Regions from separate parts of the Homo sapiens genome. Here regions 1, 2 and 3 are each linked to region 4. The links are contacts of gene promoters, found by promoter capture Hi-C in blood cells and fetal thymus (Javierre and others, 2016). All regions are on one chromosome and are shown on one strand. The core of a region is centred on a gene start or on the middle of the fragment in contact, and the rest is flanking DNA. Distances in the headings are between cores, read along the strand shown. Region 1 overlaps BBX (BBX high mobility group box domain containing). Region 2 overlaps DUBR (DPPA2 upstream binding RNA). Region 3 overlaps LINC00882 (long intergenic non-protein coding RNA 882). Region 4 holds the start of DZIP3 (DAZ interacting zinc finger protein 3).

The links. Contacts are between HindIII fragments. The CHiCAGO score rates a contact against its expected background, and 5 or more counts as called.
Region 1: a fragment that was not itself captured here is called in contact with the fragment with the promoter of DZIP3 in region 4 in 1 of 17 cell types (M2 macrophages); the score reaches 5.7 in M2 macrophages.
Region 2: a contact is called between a fragment that was not itself captured here and the fragment with the promoter of DZIP3 in region 4, in 1 of 17 cell types (M2 macrophages). The highest score is 5.1, in M2 macrophages.
Region 3: a contact is called between a fragment that was not itself captured here and the fragment with the promoter of DZIP3 in region 4, in 1 of 17 cell types (M2 macrophages). The highest score is 5.2, in M2 macrophages.

Annotation. Positions count from the first base shown.
Region 1 is chr3:107,579,036-107,582,206 of GRCh38, reverse strand. All of the region lies in intron 2 of BBX (BBX high mobility group box domain containing), which reads right to left. Among named protein-coding and RNA genes, the nearest start is that of BBX, 58 kb to the right of the region's middle. The HindIII fragment of the contact is 1,690 bases long and covers 1,069-2,758 here.
Region 2 is chr3:107,245,358-107,248,738 of GRCh38, reverse strand. All of the region lies in intron 1 of DUBR (DPPA2 upstream binding RNA), which reads right to left. Among named protein-coding and RNA genes, the nearest start is that of DUBR, 6.4 kb to the right of the region's middle. The HindIII fragment of the contact is 2,415 bases long and covers 484-2,898 here.
Region 3 is chr3:107,225,500-107,229,039 of GRCh38, reverse strand. The region is part of intron 1 of LINC00882 (long intergenic non-protein coding RNA 882); the gene reads left to right. The region is part of intron 1 of LOC124909404 (a long non-coding RNA gene); the gene reads right to left. Among named protein-coding and RNA genes, the nearest start is that of LINC00882, 13 kb to the left of the region's middle. The HindIII fragment of the contact is 5,421 bases long and covers 1-3,540 here.
Region 4 is chr3:108,588,214-108,591,874 of GRCh38, reverse strand. It overlaps DZIP3 (DAZ interacting zinc finger protein 3), which reads right to left and starts at 2,153. Exons shown (of 33, transcript NM_014648.4): 1 at 2,036-2,153. It overlaps CIP2A (cellular inhibitor of PP2A), which reads left to right and starts at 2,437. Exons shown (of 21, transcript NM_020890.3): 1 at 2,437-2,601. The coding sequence starts at 2,500. RefSeq lists an enhancer at 1,959-2,238. The HindIII fragment of the contact is 803 bases long and covers 1,590-2,392 here.

The DNA.
Region 1 (3,171 bases), core at 664-3,163, 1.0 Mb after region 4:
TTATTTTGCTTAATATTTGCTACCTATAGAAAGTACTTTAACAATACCTCTACTAGGTAAATGTGATTTTTTTTTAAAAAGAAGGTTTGGCGAAAATTTGATGAAAATTGGATGCCCTAGCAAGCTAAGAAGAAATAACTGCTTCTGCCTAAAGTTTTGGGGGAAAACATTAAAAATAAAACGTTAAAGAATCTTTCTAAAAAATACCTTGGCTCATATATATACACATTATATACTAAAGTAAATATTTTACAAATATGCCACTACAGATGTAATAATACTGTGTACAAATTGATAAAGGTAATCTAGATTCTAATTTTAAAAAAAGCATTCTAATGGTAATGATAATAACATAATTCTTTTCTAAAAATATCAGCCAACTATTCCCTAGAGGACATAGTACATGATAAAGAATGAGATTTAACAAATTCTATAAATTCTGCCCTGCTGTTGATAAATAAATTCTTCATGTGTAACTCAAATTCTTAAGTTCCTGGTTGCAAAGTAAAAGAAACAGCCAATTCAAGGACACTAACGACGGAGTATGAAGCAGTGTATAAAAACTGAATAAATCAGCTGATGCCCACAGCACAGAAGACCAGTTACCAAACCACTAATTATAATTTGGCATATACTTATATTATCAAAGCTAGTTTTTAAAAATCTATGCTTAATTCCACAATTTTTAGCTATCTAGTATATGCAAAGTACTGCTAAGCCCCTAGAAGAAAATATAGTCTCTTCACTTCAAACCTGGTAGGAACATGACACAAATGAAAGATCACAGAAGGGGAATTTCCAAGTTTAAGAATCATAAAAGAGACTGGCCTGCATAACCAAAAGAGATTCAAAGGAGATGGGAAAAGGCCATTTCCTTCCTAGGACACAGGGAAAACGTCTTAAATTTCTCTTTTATCCACCCTACACTGCCAACAAGTGTGTAATAATAATATATATATAAGTGTATAATAATGAATGTAACTATTTTACAGATGTTTAGTAAGTAAAAATATGATCAAAGACATTTTAAGGCAAAATCATCAGCTTGGATATGAAAAATTAAAAGCTTGGTTTAAATTTGCTCCTAGTTAAATACAAGATTGTCTTTAAGCAAAACTCATTCAAGAATTCATTTATGAATAACAATTTAAAGATTACACTCAGACCAGATATTAGGTAGATTTTAGGTCTTCCATATTTTAACATTTGTTTGCATAGTTACAGAAGACTGACTAAAATCATGAAGTTTATTATCTCTTATTAAAAATATTGACTGTGCTGGGTGTGACGGCTCACGCCTACAATGCCAGCACTTTAGGAGGCCGAGGCGGGCGGATCACCTGAGGTCAGGAGTTTGAGACCAGCCTGGCCAACATGGTGAAACCTCATCTCTACTAAAAATACAAAATTAGCCAGGCATGGTGGTGCATGCCTGTAATCCCAGCTACTGGGGAGGCTAAGGCAAGAGAATCACTTGAACCCAGGAGGCGGAGGTTGCAGTGAGCCAAGATCGTGCCACTGCACTCCAGCTTGGGCAAAAAAGAGCAAAACTCTGTCTCAATTAAAAAAAAAAATTGAGTGCTTAACAGTTTTAAAATCATAGGATGTTTTCCCCTGATAACTTACCTACATATGAGTCATATATTTTGGTAAATATTTAAATATTAAGATTAAACTAAAATTTACTATAATTACATCAAAAGACAATGTTCTTTACTAATAGAAATTTTGTTTTGGAATCTTCAGTAAAATAAAACAAATTGTTAGTATATATTATCACATGAATGTGCTTGTATAATAATACTGAATAACAATGTTGGAGGATAGTGAAAATAATTTTTAAAAATCACAACAAAAAAAACCTGTGGATTTAAAATTCATATTCTGTCCAAAAGCTCACACAAGAGAAACAAGATTAAAAATCAAATAGCCAACATAAACTCCTAGTAAGTGAAACTATTTTTTCATGAAAAAAGCATGATAAAGAGCCTATTTTGTATTACATTAATGTTTCATAATTTCCTATGTCTGAAATTGGACTCTATAACTGATGTCAAGTGATTAAAATGAACTAGACCCAATTAACTGCATATATAATGCCATAAGTAAGTCAAATTTTACATAAAAGATTATTGGCTTTTTAAAATCTGCTGTGCTGATTTGCAATGAGCTTCTCAAGTACAATCCAAAGTTACGTAGGGAAAAAAAATCCACCGCCATAAATATATAATTTATATAATTAACAAAAAATACTCCAGAGCTTGCCAACTTGTGTTCTTAAAACTAGATTTTAAAATTCTATAGAAAATGATAGTAAAACTAAAGATATTCAACCATCATAGGTACCTTTCTAATGTTCCCACAAGACATTTAAGAACACAAATAATAGAATGAAGACCGATATGGTAAAAAAGAGGCAGCTCGATATCCAACTAAAACCCGAGTATGCAAACTGGGGAAGAACAAACTATTACCAACAGTGAGGATTAAACTCCTTTAACGTCTTCTTTCTGGTAATAAAAGAGGCTCCCTCAACATAGGTTAAGTGCCTATGTAAAAAGAGGCACAAAGAAATCTGCTGGGATGGGAGGGACTGCAAAGCATCCATCAACATCTGTGTGAAAAGACCCGCCAGGCTCTCAGGAGTTACACTCAAATAATGTGACCCTTCCAGACAGGACAATAAGGAGACAGATTAGACCCTTCAAGCAGTGATTCATCCCCGAATACATGGCAAGAAGGGATCCAGTATGAAGCTTGGACCCTGTGTGTTTGCTTAAGTGTCTGGGCAGCTCTTTTGGTGGCCCTATAACTAGCTAGTGGGTTGCCTATAGTCTCAGGACAAGTTACTAAAGGAGGCTCCAGACTGAGAGATGAAAGACCCAACTGTTCCAGGCACACTCTCAAACTTAATCAAAAGATAAATTCCAGTGCATGATTCGCCCAAGTGCTTACTCGCCCTTTACGAGACCTATCTTCTGACATAGATTTTGAAGAAAAACTCCTAAATATAAGCAGTATAATAAAACAATAAAGCCTATCTTAAAAGGAGCTCACCTCAACAACTAGAGGAAACACAATGTGAAAGTGAGAAAAAATAATGCAGGCGTTTGAGACATGCATCTCTTCTGAGTATGGGTAATCCCTCTCATTACGAAAGAGCTGGAATAT
Region 2 (3,381 bases), core at 442-2,941, 1.3 Mb after region 4:
GAAGATGGGTGTCCCAGCGCCACAGTCAGGCAGAAAATTCAAGCTTCCTCCACCTATTTTATTTGGGTCCTTAGAAGACTGGATCAAGCCCATCCACACTGGGGACTGCAATCTGCTTTATTCAGTCCATCAATTCAAATGCGAATTTCCTCCAGAAAAAGCTTCATGAACACAACCAGAAATAATGTTCGATCATATATGGGGCATCCTGTGGCCCAGCGAAGTTGACATGCATAAAATTAACCATCACACCTCCATGGAGGCCAGAAATTTTATGTATTCTGAGGACTCTGTCTCTCTGGCTTCCTCTCCATTTCAACCCTCAGGCATTCTTTTTTTCCCCAAATAAATGTCTTGTAAATCTATTTTTTTTTTACATGTGTTTTTTTTGGAGTACTGGAACTAATAAATTTGGACTTTGTTCTGCAGGTAGTTTAGTTACTTACAGATCAGCTTTATACTATTGAGGCTTGTTTTTAAGCTTTTTGTGGGGGTGAGGAGCAAGTGTAGTGTAGTTTTTAGTCAGGATAGTTTAGCCCTACGTATGTAACACACAACCTTTCTGGGATCTTTAGCGAATGCCTGGTTTTCAGTCAGGACTCTCCACTGTGGCTGGATGGAAATTAGATATTTCCCAATCTCACGCTAATTTTGAGAATTGTTAGGCTTAGTGTTCCGCAATGTACACAATGGGGTCTCTACATAGATTTCTGGATTTTTTTGTCTACCTTCCTCCTTGTTGATACTTTGTCCTGAAAATTCAAGCTATCTCAGTATCAACTCCAATCTTCCTCTCCTCAACTCAGCAAGACTCTGATCTCCTGCGATGGGATCCAGAGTGCTCACCTCAGAAAGGCAGGGCGATCGGAGGTCTCACTTTGTTTCCCTGCCTCAGCGATCAAATTGTATAAACTTTTTCCCTGGCTTCTGGAAACACTGATAGCCAACCTTTCGGTAAAATTTCTAACATATGTACTTAGAGCTTTAATATGCTAAGTATTTAATATGCTAAGTATTTTCTTTAAAATTCATTTCAAAATATTTTTGCAATTTTGCCGTGATTTATTTTTTGGCTCATGGGTCATGAGGTGTATGTTCCTTAAATTAATGCATTTTGGAAATTTTTTGTTACCTTTATGTACTTGATTTCTGGTTTAATTCATACTCTATATGATTTCAATCTTTTGAAATTCTTGAGACTTGATTTGTGATCCAGCCTAACATGCGCCCCAGAACACATGGTAAATGTTTTGGGGTATACTTTAAAAGAACATGTATTCTGATGTTTTTGAATGTAATATCTTATGTCTTATTCATATTTATAGTACCAATACACAGCACATAGTAGAAACTTAACATATATTGAGTTAAATAATTCAAAGGTTTTATCCGATTGGTGGCAATTCAAGACCAAATAAGAGAGGATGATGATGACATCACTATTTCTGTTAAGACAGGGCCTCATACAACATACAGGAATGTCCAGTTGTCAAGTCATGCAGTTTCTCCCCTATTCTAACCAATGTTAATGCCAATACTTTGTGATGAAAATTATCCCAGTATTTTTCCTCCTATGTTTCCACCAGTTTTCCCTTCATTGATTGTTAAGATTTATATCACTAGAGCTATTTGACAGTAGGAAACAATTACCTTAGGAAAAGTTGGTGACATTGGTCTATAAAGGTCACGGAGACATAAGAAATGGTTATTTTTTCATTTTTCACCAAACAATTCACGATTGTTTCTAAGATTACAAAAGATTAGACGATAGCTAATATTTCTATGCAATGGTCAAATTTTTCAAGTAGAATCATTTTTAAATTTTCCAAGTTCCAATGTCACTTTCTCCTTGAACACGACTCAAGGTCAAAACTTATAAATGTACACCTTCTAGTACATTTAACTTTCCAATTTAACCCTTCTGCCAACTTTATTCTGGACACTGAAGTTTTGATTATAAAGAAGGGAGGAAATAGATTTCGATGAGTCTAACAGTATATTACGTAGGCTTATAAGATGCTTCTTGGGTACAGTCTCACATCTTTTCAACCTCTGATTCCAGTCATAGCTCTGGTGAAGAGTTAACGGGAAGATTTTACCCTGCTCTGTGCTGACACCGTCTCACTTCGAGCATGCACCAAGACTCTAGCTTCCTGTCTTAAGACCTCTCTGATGCAGCAATGTGTGATGCTAAGGTACCAGCTGGACTGTCAGCTAGCTCTTTGCAGCCCAGAGGGTTGGGGTGGTGGAGGCAGTGGGTTAATGCCCCAAAGGAGCAGCCCTCAACACACAGGAGGTGGCTGCTGATGGAGAAATACTTCTCCTTTCTCCCTGAGGCAGACAGTTCTGAGATAAAGTTTAAGAAGAATCCTGAGAAAGTTCTGCATTATGTAGCCATTAATAGGGGTGGACCACTTGATAAGAGCAGTATCTGGTTTTGCTCGGACTTAGTTTCCCTTTTCCCCAGTTCACTCCCCTATCTCTCATTCCTGCTCCTGGGTGTTAGACTCATAAATAGAATGTGTCTACCTTTGTCTCAGGCTCTGCTTTCAAGAATAACCTAGATTAAAACAGTGGGTAAGTGCGTTGTTGGTACATTACATAATGCAGGGATGTAATTTTCCTTGACTCTGTGCATCTACAAAGAAACACTTATTCAGATGGCAGCATAGTTGAGGATTTCCACCTTTTTCCTTTTTGAAAGCTCATGGTCCATCCTGAGCCTGACCACCTAAAGAAAAAAAAGTTGTCATAATTAGGTTATAATTAAACAGGAAAATTTCTTTGTGAGGATGGCTCTAAACATTTTTTTTCCTGTCTGAGGGAGTCCTCAGCAATTTGGCTGGATATTTTCGTCTAATATGGAAGAGCCCTCAGTCTACTTAATCATGTAAAGCTTTTGTTGCTTTGGAAACAAGCATATTAAATTTCTTATTTTCCCTGGTAAAAAAGCTGGATCTTGGCTGGGTGTAGTGGCTCACACCTGTACTCCCAGCACTTTGGGAGGCTGTGGAGGGTGGATCACTTGAGTCCGGGAGTTCGAGACCAGCCTGGGCAACATGGTGAGACCCTGTCTCTATTAACAATATAAATTTTTTTTCAAAAAGTAAAACAAACAAAAAAGCTGGATCTTTTAGTGGTATAATTCTTTTTGTTAAGAAATTCAAACATAAAAAACATAAATTACTGGAACACTATCAGGGCTTTCTTCATTCATGAAGGAATGCTCTGAAAGATACAGGGAGTTATTAGAAATAAATTGAGATTGCCCATATGCTAGCACGAAGTGAAAACGTCAACAATGATAATTTTTTACTCATTTGGTTCTGAAGACACTTCAGAGAACAAAATTGATTAAAATCCCTCCTTATTGAACCTGTA
Region 3 (3,540 bases), core at 324-2,823, 1.4 Mb after region 4:
TCCGACTCCTGGGTTCAAGCAATTCTCCTACCTCAGCCTCCCGAGTAGCTGGGATTACAGATGCGTGCCACCACACCTGGCTAATTTTTGTATTTTTAGTAGAGACAGGGTTTTACCATGTTGTCCAGGATGGTCTCTATTTCCTGACCTCGTGATCCACCTGCCTTGGCCTCCCAAAGTGCTGGGATTACAGGCGTGAGCCGTTGCACCCAGCTGTTTTTTTTTAAATTTGTACAAAGGCTGTATATGGACTTGCGGTGCCTGAACTTGGACAAGTTACATAACTCCTTTGGCTTTCATATGGAGATATTAATACCTACCTTGCTAAATTGGTTATAAATATTACATGTGTGTGGCACACAGTCAGTGTTCAATAAATACTTTTGAATGAATATTAAAGCACTAAGCATAATGTCTGTGATACAGATTTGGTAAATTGCGGCCCATTTTTGCCTTGAATGAGGGAAATTTTAGATTAATAGTATATGTGTAAATATGTGCCTTTGAAGTTTCTTAAGTGTTTCATATTTTGCACTTAATTACTGCATGGTACTACCTAAAATGTTCCCAATAAGATGTTTGGGATCCTTCTTTAATTTCCTGAGGAGTACACATCCAGTATAAAGGAAATTATGACTATGTGACACATTGAAAGGAAAAATTAGTGACTCATAGTTGAGCTTATTTTGGAATCCTAAAATATGGGAATCCTAGGTTTGTAAGGAAACATTTAATCCAAACTACCATCAGTTACTTGAATTTCACTTTATTTATCAGATGTATATTGATCAGTTATTATATGTTGGAACTGTGCTATGCATGAGGACTACAAAGATAAATGAGATATTCTTGTTGAGAAGTTACAGACCTTTGCGTGAACATTTCCAGGGACAATTCACAATTACTAACCTTATTTTTAGGAATCTTATGACAATTCAAAATTTATCTTTATCTTTCATTTATTGGCTTAGCTTTTCTATTTAGGGTACAAAGAAGTAAGCATAATTATTTTTTAGAAAAATATTTCTTATACATGAACGAAATTGAATTTCTTCTGAGACATCTGTTCTTCAACTGAAACATCACTGCATTACTCTGCTGTTCCTCAAGCCTCTTCACCATTTTGCTCACTCCTCTGAATGCCTTCCAGGTTGTCTGCTAAGATGTGGAACATACACATAACCAGGGTGTCCAGGCTCCAGCTGTAGATCAGCCATCACAGAACAATTTCTTTCGCATATCAGATACTGTCTTTCAAATCTGTGGCATGATTTATACTCATAACTGTGTGACCAATATGTACTATAAACTGTCTAATCCCTATTGTTATTTAAAAAGAATATAGATGATCTCTCTAATTCCTTAAGGAGCTTTTCATATACTGTTCCAACCATCAAAATGATAATAATGGGGGCAACCTTGCTAGAGGTCTAGGTTATTGAATTACTATTTGGAAGTCATTTTTGGTCCAGTTAATTAAAGCCACTGTAATTTATATAATTTACGACAGGTAGGTGGTAGATAGCTAAGGAAGGACTTCTATAGCTTTGCAGATCTGTTTTCTATAAATTGCTGTGTCACCTAAACAATTGTTTTCAATAAACAATGTGATAGGTAATTCTATTTATAACTCTAAGCACTTACTAAAAAACCTTAATATCTATTCACTTTTTATTTTAGTTAACAAATGCATGAAATGCCTCTGTACCAAGTGTACTCTGACTCAGCACTTGGGACAAGTGCCCTGCCCACCAGAACAGTAGAAGAAGACAGTTCTAACTCAGAGACAATTTATAGCTGTGCACACTGCTATGCTTTGCTACTTATAGAAGAAGGAAAGGACAAACAGGTGTGGTAATGAATTGGAAGATGGAGACAGGGAAGAGACCTCTGTCTGTATGAAGGGTGAATGTTTGGAAGCCGTGGGAGAGGTAGACCTGGATAGATGGTATGTTAGTTTCCTAGGGCTGCTATGCCAAATTACCACAAACTTTGTGGCTGAAAACAAAGAAGAGCAAAGAAATTTGCTCTTCCATAGTCAGGAGGCCAGAAGTTTGAAATCAAGGTTTTGACCTGGCCATCCATGCTACCTATCAAGGCTCTGGAGAAGAATCTTCCTTTGTCTCTTTCTATCTTTGTCTCTTGGCAATCATTGGCATTCTTTGGCTTTTATATGCATCCCTCCAATCTCTGCCATTGTCTTCACATGACCTTCCTTCCTGTGTCTCCTCTGTATCTCTGTGTCCAAATCTCTCTCTCTCTATCTCTCTTTTTTTTTTTTTTCAATAAAGACACTAGTCATGAGATTAGGGCCTGACTTAATCCAGTGTGACCTCACTTTTACTTGATGACATCTGCAAAAACCACATTTCCAAAGAAGCTCACATTTACAGGTCTGGGTAATTTAGTCTGTTTGTGCTGCCATAACAAAATACCATAGACTCAGTAATTCATAAAGACCAGAAATTTATTTCTCATAGTTCTAGAGGCTGTGAAGTCCAAGATCAAGGCACCAGCGGGTTTATTGTCCAGTGATGGTCCAGTCTCTGCCTCCAAGATGGCGCCTGGAATGCTGCATCCTCTAGAGAGGATGAATGCTGTGTCTTCACACAGCAGAAGACAAAATGGCAAAAAAGGATGAACTCTCTCCATCAAGCCCTTTTATAAGAGCAACTAATCTCATTCACAAGGGAGGAGCTCTCATGCCTAATCACCTTTTAGAGGCAATACCTCTTAATACTATCACATTGGCAGCACTTGAATTTTGGTGGAGAAACTTTCAAACCATAGCCAGGAGTTATGCCTTGAACATATCTTTTAGCGGAAACAATTCAATCCATAACAGGTGAGATGGACCAAATTATGAAACACTTTAAATGAAGGTGGAAGAGTGTGGGTTTTATTTATAAGTCGGGGGCCACTAGAAACTTTAAGTAAGGGTGCTAATGAGATAATAACAGGAAGGTCTGGTGGAGGTATGCTATAGCATGCTGAGCTGAAAATGAAGTTTAGAGATGAGGATATTAATGAGGATATCACAGCAGTGTTCCATGGATAAAGTGAAGGATAGTTTATAAGGGAAGATGTAGAAGAATGTATTTTTTCAAAGATGGCTGCAGCAATGTCTCTCATACCACTTGCTCTTTGTAATGAGATCTTCTCACAGCCTTATCAATAGGTAGTATCTGTTTCTCTACCTGTGCATCCGGGCAGACCCAGTGACTGTTTTGACCAATAGAATAGGGTGAAAGTGACACCTTGCCAATTATTAATATACGCATAGACTTTTCCTGCCCCTTTCCTACCCTGAGAGCACCAAGCTGTAAGAAGCCTGAGCCATGGAGCTATGTAGAGAGGCCCTGGAGGCAGGGCCAGGGCCAGGGTGAGGCAAGAGAGGTGCCTTGTACAAAATTTAAGGAGGTGCTCTGAGGTGCATTTGCATGACACTGAGAAGAAGTGTCCCTTAAATTTTGCACCCAAGGCACCTCTCTTAACTCGATTCACACTAGTTCTGGACCTGCCGAGGGAGAGGGAGACAGA
Region 4 (3,661 bases), core at 904-3,403:
ACAAGTGAGCACACCCATGCCCGGCTAATTTTTTCATTTTTTGTAGAGATGGCGTTTCACTATGTTGCCTAGGCTGGCTCCAACTCCTGGGTTCAAGGTCCTCCTGCCTTAGTCTCCCAAAAAACTGGAAATTAAAAGCGTGAGCCACTGCTCCTGGCCTCCTGCTCCTTTTCTTCCCTTTTTGAGGCCTAAAAGTATGGATTGGTGTTTCTCAAATTAGGATATGCAAGTATCTCTGATTAAAAATGTCAAGACTTATCACAGCTAGAAACGATCCCTCTTACTAAACTTACAACATCAATTTTGGTGAAGATTTTTTGAGAAAGACATTTGATATTAATTACAGAAGAGAATACAAAATTTGTATGACTGCTTAAGTCAAAATCCAACAAAGATGGCACTGATAGCACGCAGCTTTGCGCATTACCCTGGGCCTCTGAATGGGGACGATGCTGACACATCATCACAGATGAAAAGTCCAACACTATCAAACTCTGATCACTTCATTTGCCAATGAGGCACTGACTGTAACACTGAGAACTTAATTATGCCAGATGACAGCTGACACTTTACATTAATTCATTTTTTAACCATCTCCAAGACCGTATAGGACCTCATCTCTACTCCTCTCCTCCTCGTTCTTTCTACACTAGCCACATGGCATCCTTGTTTCTGGCATACAGTATCCCACTTTAGGGTCTTTCTTTGCCATTTCCTCTATCTAAAAACCTTTTCCCATAGAATATGGCTCCCTTTCTCAACTCCTTGAAGCATTTCCCCAAATGTTGCTTTCTTAATGAGGTCACCTTCCCATTTCCCTTATCAATTACCAACATTATTCTAGAGTAATAACGTCTATTTTTCTCTTTATATCATTTTCCTTACTTATTTATTGTGTTTATTATTTGGTTCCCTACCAAAATGTAAGTTGCATGCCAGTAGTATTTTTGTTTTTTTCACTGAGTCTATTGTGTCTAGAAAAGTGCTTAGCACATTGTAGATTCTCAATGAACTACTTATTGAATGAACAGTCCTATGAACCAGGTATCTCCCTTGGCCAGATTTTACCTAATGAAGATTCTGCAGCAGTGAGAACTTGCCTAGAGTCACATCGTCAAAGGTGGAGCTAGAATCTGTAAGCAACCTGGCTCTCTACTCTTTACCACTGCTGCATGTTACTGCATGGTGCCTCTCATTTATGTGGTGAATTTCAAAAGTACTATTTTGTATGTTTCCCTTACTAGACAGTTCCCTCGCAGCAGGGGATACTACTTCATCTCTGTTCCCTGACTGGCAGTTTCTAACCCATGTTACACGCTCTATAATTGTTTACGGAATGAATGAAAGCATAAATGAACACACAAGCTACCCAAAGATTTTTACATGAATGTCCCAACTGGTTAAATCATTTTTATCTTTCAGATTTAAACTTTTATAAAAAACAAAACCAAAACACCAAACCTGTCTTCAAAAATCTAGTAATTCAAAAAAATTCTTTTGAAGTGAAAAAACATGATTTCTGATAAACGATTTAATTAAATGGAAATGTACCCTATTCTTACAATTTCTACATCCTGGTTTTTAAAGCTTTATTCGACGTTAGGAAATATTAAGCAAAAAGCTCCAAAACCAGTAACTGACTCGCTTCATTACATACACATGCAATAATATTAAGCTATCTCCGATTTAAAAAACGCAAATAATAGTGCCATTTTCGTAGACATCGAGAATTATAAAACAATCAATCATGCCAGAGAGAAACAGACACCTTCACTTACAAAAACTGACGCTAACGAGTAACACCCTCCGGAGCAATACCTGGCCCAGGGTCAGCAGGAGGTAGTCTTCTCGAATAAATGTGACAAATACTTTGGTCAGGGCATGACTAATTTGCCACATAATGCCAATAGGTTGACTCTGAGAAACTACCATCCCCGGGCAGAAGGGGCGGGTGTAGGAGAGATTTAAAAACGAGGCCCCTCCCAGGCCGCCTCAAAATCTAGGGCCCAAGATTCTTCTCCTCAGAGCTCCTCACCGTGTCTAGACTAGGGGCAAGCGACCATTTCTCAGGTAGAGGATGACGCACAAACGAAAAACTGGCCATCCAACATGAAGGACGAGGAAGCGCACGAAATCAGAGCGCACAGCTGAGTGAGGAATCCCCCTTCTCCTAACCGATTCCTCTCCCGAGAAATCGCGAGATTTCTCGCCTTCACGGGATCTCAGGCCGAAACCTCGCGGCCTCTCAGACGAGGGTGGGTTAGCGGGGGCAGCTCCCAACCCCCGTCCTGGACCCACAAATCACCTCGACCCCTGGCCCACCCCGGCCGTCACCGAGAACGGTCCCCTAGGGTGCCTAGGGACTTCCGGAGCCCGACCGGATCCGGAAGCTTCTGAGAGCGAGGGGGTGGGGCCGAAAATCAAAAAAAGCGCGGCGAAAGCTAAAGGCCGGCGCACGCTGGGCGGTGGTGGTCCCTAAGCCGGGCCGCGGCCGGTGCAATGGACTCCACTGCCTGCTTGAAGTCCTTGCTCCTGACTGTCAGTCAGTACAAAGCCGTGAAGTCAGAGGCGAACGCCACTCAGCTTTTGCGGCACTTGGAGGTGAGAGGCTCTGGGGTAGAGGACAGATGGGGCTTCCCCTAGCAATTCTTATTTCACAGTGAGGCCGAGGAGTGGCGGCCCCAGCCTGGGAAAGAAAGGACAGTCCTTCGATCCCTCTGTTGTCTTTTCGTACTGGTAAAGGCTAGTGAGTGTCGGGGTTCCGCTGGCCGCAGCGAGAGGCAAGAGCGCTCACTGAAGGCTCTAGGAAAAGCGGGAGTGGGGCAAAAGGTTGGGAAGTTCAGGTTGTTTCGAGTAGGTAACGGAAAAAGCTCGGAACTTTATCTTTTCCTTTGCTTCTAGTTTTGGTTTTTCTACGAAACCAAGCCCTCAATACACAACTATTCTCAGTGACGGAAAGTCATGATTAAAACTTGGTTTTGCCCTTCGGTAATCTATAATTGAATTTGTTGCTTACTGCTCTTACTTGAACTCGGGTTGAACTCAAACTTGAAAAACATTATTTCAACATTAAGAAGCACTTCCCCTTCCTAGTAAGCGTAATCCTTTTTCTTTACCAAAATACATTGCTTACAGTTTTTTAATCTTAGAATGCTGAATTGCCTTTTTTTCTATTCTAGTGATATGTGTCCAGACGATTCCGTTTGTTTTAGGATCTTAATCTTCTGCTTTCATTTGTTTTGCATTTACGGAATTCAAACTAACATTGACCTCAGTTTAATTTTTTTAAAGCTCAATTAAGGCTTATTTTAACTCTCTGTGTCACAGCTTTCCTCTGTTAAGGTAGAATTGAACATAATTTTAAAATATATTGTATTATATTAACCCTATGATAAAAGACTAATGTGCCAAAAATTTGTAAAATATTACAGGAAAAAAATGATTTCCAGTAGTAGAGCAACAGCAGCTGTTAGTGAAGCTGCTGTTGTATTAAATGTGTCTGTCTTATCTTGAGCTTCACTGGTGCTCCTCTTTTCCCTACTTCAAGTGCCCATCTCCTAAGTACATTTGTTTTCTCTTTTTCATTCTTTATTTTAAGAAGTGCCTGCAAACCTAATAATTAAGGTGTTAGCTGTTAAATGCTTAAGGCTTTGCTTCTGAA